2 separate regions of the Homo sapiens genome follow, and region 1 is linked to region 2. Evidence: promoter capture Hi-C in 16 types of primary human blood cells and fetal thymus (Javierre and others, 2016). All regions are on one chromosome and are shown on one strand. Each heading gives the region's core, a stretch centred on a gene start or on the middle of the fragment in contact. The rest is flanking DNA. Distances are from core to core; before and after follow the strand shown.

Evidence for each region. The method cuts DNA at HindIII sites, captures the fragments that hold promoters and counts their contacts. A CHiCAGO score of 5 or more calls a contact.
Region 1: a fragment that was not itself captured here is called in contact with the fragment with the promoter of C22orf15 in region 2 in 2 of 17 cell types (monocytes and neutrophils); the score reaches 5.2 in monocytes.

Annotation. Positions count from the first base shown.
Region 1 is chr22:24,572,070-24,574,869 of GRCh38, forward strand. It overlaps SNRPD3 (small nuclear ribonucleoprotein D3 polypeptide), which reads left to right. Exons shown (of 4, transcript NM_004175.5): 4 at 1-2,800. Among named protein-coding and RNA genes, the nearest start is that of SNRPD3, 17 kb to the left of the region's middle. The HindIII fragment of the contact is 203 bases long and covers 1,421-1,623 here.
Region 2 is chr22:23,761,409-23,764,378 of GRCh38, forward strand. C22orf15 (chromosome 22 open reading frame 15) reads left to right here and starts at 1,582. Exons shown (of 6, transcript NM_182520.3): 1 at 1,582-1,923; 2 at 2,679-2,765; 3 at 2,852-2,970. The coding sequence starts at 1,899. The HindIII fragment of the contact is 2,909 bases long and covers 1-1,620 here.

The DNA.
Region 1 (2,800 bases), core at 272-2,771, 810 kb after region 2:
TGCCATCTTTCTCTTTAGATCAGGGGAAATGTTTAAGCTAAATAAATCTGGGGGGTTTTTTGTTCTGTTTTGTTTTGTTTTCTTTGAGAAAATAAGGACTTTGTGTTCATTTGAAGTTTGCTTTGGCTAAATTTTGACACCCTGGGGGATGTCCTGGGAGAATGCCAGTACTTTGAAATAGCACAGCTATTGATGAGATTTTAAGCTGCTGTTCCTGGCCAGTTGCAGGTTAAGCCCCAGAAAAGTTCACCTTGGAGAAGCTCCGAGAACACACAGATTGTGTCTCATTCATCTTCAGACACAGGCACATAGTGTGGCACTTTGTTCAGTTAACATTTGTGGAGCTGTCATCAGCTCAGCTTTAACAACACAGGTGACTCTTTCCCTTGATAAAGTCATAGGTAATTCAGGGGCTGGGTGCGGCGGCTCACGCATGTAATCCCAGCACTTTGGGAGGCCAAGGCGGGCGGATCACGAGGTCAGGAGTTCGAGACCAGCCTGGCCAATATGGTGAAACCTCGTGTGTACTAAAAATAAAAAAATTAGCCGGGTGCGGTGGCATGTACCTGTAGTCCCAGCTACTCGGGAGGCTGAGGCAGAAGATTCGCTTGAACCCAGGAGGTGGACATTGCAGTGAGCAGAGATCATGCCACTGTACTCCAGCTTGGGTGACAGAGCGAGACTGCACCTCAAAAAAAAAAAAGTAATTCAGGGGATCCTAGTGGCCAGCTTCCTTGGCTCGTATACTGGCTACAACAAGTAGTTTTGTGGTGATTTGTGGAAACAGATTCTTGGGAGCATATCAGAGCATCTCAGCATTGATTGGCACATCCATAGTTGTTAATGTAGGAAGGGTGACCAGCAGCTCAGCACAGTGGCTTGCTTCCAGCACTCTGGGAGGCTGAGGTAGAGGATTGTTTGAGAGGAGTTCAAAACCAGCCCGCGAGACATAGTGAGACCCTGTCTCTACAAAAAATTCTAAAAATTAACTTGGCATGGTGGTGCACACCTGTAGTCCTCGCTACTAGGGAGGCTGAGGTGGGAGGATCACTTGAGCCTGGGAGTATGAGGCTGCAGTGAGCTATGACCTTGCCACTGTACTCCAGCCTGGGCAAAAGAGCAAGACTTTGTCTTTAAAGAAAAATAAGTAGTAGTAAAGAGTATAAGATACACAGGGTGAATAATTGTGACAAAAACACAGAAACTGGAAAAGCAGCCTGAAAAAATCAAATCACCAAAAAGAGGTCTTGCCAGGTATTCATTATGGTATGAGCTACAGCATAAGCCATCAAGAGGAAAACTGATCAATTATTGGCTTTTAGAATATTGCTCATTGAACAGATTATTCAAGTAATGAAAGAGGAGGGGAAAAAAATCCAGCACATTAGTTAACCTGGCATCAATTAATGAGGTTCTAATAAGCTTTGTCTTATGATACTACCTGGAGGTTACAGAGCTGGTATTCTGAGGAATAAGCATCAGTGAGTTGGTCAGATACAATAGACGTTTAAAATAGGGCTTCAGGCCAAACATGGTGCCCCACGCCTATAATGCCAGCACTTTGGGAGGTCGAGGCGGGAGGATCACTTGAACCTAGGAGTTTGAGACTAGCCTGGGCTGTTAAGCTTTGTTAACCAAGACCGCATCTCTACAAAAAATTGAAAAGTAGCTGGGCACAGCTGATGCCTGCAGTCCCAGCTATCCTGGAGGTTGAGGCAGGACGACCACATGAGCCCAGGAGATTAAGGCTGCAGTGAGCTATAATTGCACCACTGCACTCCAGCCTGGATGACAGTGAGACCCTGTCTCTTAAATAAAAAACAAATGAAAGCAGTGGTTTTCAACATCAACTAAGGATCTTATTAGAAATGAAGACTGCAAGCCGCACACCTGGAGTGGGGCCCAGGAATCTGCATTTTAAACAATTCCCTGGTCCCCAGATAAGTAATTCTTAAGTATTCTATCTTAAGTAGACCTAAAGCCGTATTTTGACCCTGTACTAGTATGTTATTTTAGTATAATCATTACTGAATTCATCATACTTTTACAGTAAACAGTACTTACTTTGAATAATAACACATTACACTTAATAGTAGTGAACTGCATCCTCGATATCAAAAGCGACTTTTGATGTAGTTCACTCTGGACCCGTACAGGAACACCAGCCTTGCAGATTCTCCACGCAATGGAAACTGGCTATAACCCTACCTAGATCTGAAAAGTGAAGGGGGATCAACCTAAAATATGTAGCTTTGTAAACAGTTTTATATCCTGCATCTTAGGGGGGAAAATCAGTTGACGCAGATTGAAAACAAGTTGTTCCATAAGGTTTATTATGAAAAACAGTAGCCCTCCTACCCTGCCTTTACCCCACTTTCCTTGCCTCACAGTAGTCTGTCCAACTCTTGGCTGATTTGTTTGTATTTACCTCCATGTCTCAATATGAACATGTTTTCATGACTATTCCTTGATGGTTTTTTGTTTGCTTGTTTTAAGACGGTCTCACTCTTCCCCAGGCGGGAGTGCAATGGCACAATCATGGCTCACTGCAGCCTCAACCTTCTCGGGCTCAGGTGATTCTCCCACCTCAGCCTCCTGAGTAGCTAGAAATACTGGTGCACACCACCATGCCTAGCTAATTTTTGTATTTTTTGTAGAGACAGGGTTTTGCCATGTTGCCCAAGCTGGTCTTGAACTCCGGGGCTCAAGTGATCTGCCCGCCTCGGCCTGCTGGGATTATAGGTGTGAGCCACTGCACCCGGCCACCATTATCTTTTGAATCCTCTCTTCCTCCTGCCCA
Region 2 (2,970 bases), core at 332-2,831:
GGAGGGAGGGAGAGAGGGAGGGAGGAAGAGAAAGGAAAAAAGGGAAAGGAGGGAGGGGAGGGGAGGGGAGAGGAGGGGAGGGGAGAGAGAATGTGAAGCCTAGACAGAAAAGGAAGACGGAGAGGAGGGGAACAAGAAGGGGAGAGACTGGGAGAAGCAGACAAATACAAAAGACACGAAATGGCCGAAATGGCCGGGCACAGTGGCTCATTCCTATAATCACAGCACTTTGAGAAGCTCAGGCAGGTGGATCACCTGAGGTCAGGAGTTCGAGACCAGCCTGGCCTTCCTTATGTCTACTAAAAATACAAAAAATTAGCCAGGGGTGGTGGCTGGCGCCTGTAATACCAGCTACTCCGGAGGCTGAGGCAGGAGAATCGCTTGAACCCGAGAGGCGGAGGTTGCAGTGAGCCGAGATTGCGCCACTGCACTGCAGCATGGCTGACAGAGCGAGACTCATTCTCAAAAAAAAATAAATAGGTCAGGCTTGGTGGCTCAGCACTTTGGGAGGCCAAGATGGGCGGATCATTTGAGGTCAGGAGTTCGAGACCAATCTGACCAATATGGTGAAACTCCATCTCTATTAAAAATACAAAAAAAGGCCGGGCGCAGTGGCTCACGCCTGTAATCCTGTAATCCCAGCACTTTGGGAGGCCGAGGCGGGCAGATCACGAGGTCAGGAGATTGAGACCGTCCTGGCTAACATGGTGAAACCCCGTCTGTACTAAAAATACAAAAAAAATTAGCTGGGCGTGGTGGCGAGCGACTGTAGTCCCAGCTACTCAGGAGGCTGAGGCAGGAGAAAGGCGTGAACCCGGGAGGCGGAGCTTGCAGTGAGCCGAGGTCACACCACTGCACTCCAGCCTGGGCGAGGGAGCGAGACTCCGTCTCAAAAAAAAAAAAAAAAAAAAAAAAAACTAGCCAGGTGTAGTGGTGCACACCTGTAGTCCCAGTTACTTGGGAGGCTGAGGCAGGAGAATCGCTTGAACTCGGGAGGCGGAGGTTGCAGTGAGCCGAGATCGTACCACTGCATTCTAGCCTGGGTGACAGGGAGACTCCATCTCAAAAAATAAAAATTTAAAAAACACCAATAATAATAATAATTAATAAACTTAATAAATAAATAAATAAAAGACAGGAAATGACGGTGAGAACCGGTGTGAGGGACTAGCTAGTGGCCAGTGCTAACAAGGAGGTGCTTGTGACCTGCTATGGACCTGGAAGCGACTAGGGCTGAGTACAAAGGGGGCAAAGGAATTTGGGGGTGATGGAAATGTTCTGTATCTTGACTGTGGTGGTGGTTATATGAGAGTTGGCATAACTTTAAAACACCAGAAAGGGTGAACTTTACTGTACAAGTGGTTCACAACTGCAATCCCAGCACTTGTGGGAGGCTGGGGCTGGAGAATTGCTTGAGCCAAGTTCGAGACCAGCCTGGGCAACATAGGGAGACTGTCTCTAAAAAAAATCAATCCCAATGATGGCATTCCCCGCCTCAGGGAATGCCAGCCCCCACTTCTTCTGTCACCTCTCCCCCATGGGCCCCGTTAACGGATACAGGGAGGAAGGCATTTCCTGCCTAGATGTCTCCGCCCCCACTGCCATGGAGACCAGCTTGGAAGCTTAGGGGAGCTGCTGTGGCCCAGGGCTCAGTGGGGAGGAAGAGGAGGCCAGGAGTCTTGGACTAGCTGCAGGGTTTGAGCTAGGCTGAAGCAGCAGAACCACAGAGGTGGCTGAGCAGGGGCCTGGCCCTGGGACCCAGCCATCCACACTCACACATCCACTTCTCCCTCCAGAGCCCGGCCCTGAAGCAGGTCTCTGCTCCACGCTTTTCCTTAGTTGGGGAATCGAGAGTTGGGGGATCAAAGCCCCCCACATCTCCCTCACCCGCTGCAGCTATGTTTATCAAGGTGATGTTTGGGGGTAAGTGGGGTCCCCTGTCTTGGTAGGCGGATAGGGGGATGAGCACACTCAGAGGCGTGCTTCCTTCCGCCCTTGCGGTGGGTGGGGAGGCAATGGCGGGAAAGGGGGGTGGTGCACATGGCGGGGGTCGTCGGGGAAGCGGCTCTGTGAGGAGGCGAAGCCAGCACCTGGAGCGAGTCCCTTAAAGGGAAAACCCGAGCTGAGTCCTGCTCATTCACAAGGGTTCCTCTCGGCCAGAGACCGCCGCATTACCCTGGAGCAGGTTTTTAAGCCGCACAATCTCTTCGCCATTCAATCCGTGATCCTCAAGCTTCAGCGTGCATCAGACACCTGAAACTCTAGCCACAGTTGCAGGGTCCCCGTGCCTCTGGCTGGAGGCGGGTCGGCCCTGTGCGGTAGCGGAAGGGAAGAGAGGAGCCGGTGGGTGCGGAGGGCGGGGACTGGCTGGGTCCCGTGGGGGCGGGTCCCGGGAGGAGGCTGGGCTGGCGCCCACTTCGTGCTTTGCAGGACTCAAGAGACCAACACTTGGGAGTCACCACACATGGGAGAAAAGTCACCACACATGGGAGATGGATGGAGGGTTCTCCAAGGCAGTTTAAGCAACAGATGTTGGAGCTGTTATGCCCGGGGCACAGTCTTAGCCCATAGGCCCAGTCGCAGCTCTGGGAAAGGGAGAGATGGGAGGGAGAGACAGAGGACCCCGATTTGGAGGAAGGTAAGAGATCTCACAGGCTCACCTTTGCCCCTCTCCACAGCTGGCTGCTCGGTGCTGGTGAACACCTCTTGCAGGCTGGTGAACCTCACCGCCCACCTGAGGCAGAAAGCAGGGTTGCCCCCAGATGGTGAGGAGACAGGGAGGAGAAGGAGGGGCTGAGGGGTCCCAGGCAGGGGTGCCAGCCCTGCCCAGTCTCTCTCCATGTCCTCCCAGCGACCATTGCTCTCCTGGCTGAGGATGGCAACCTAGTGAGCCTGGAGGAGGACCTGAAGGAAGGGGCTTCCCGGGCCCAGACCATGGGCAACTCCCTACTGAAGGAGCGAGCCATATAT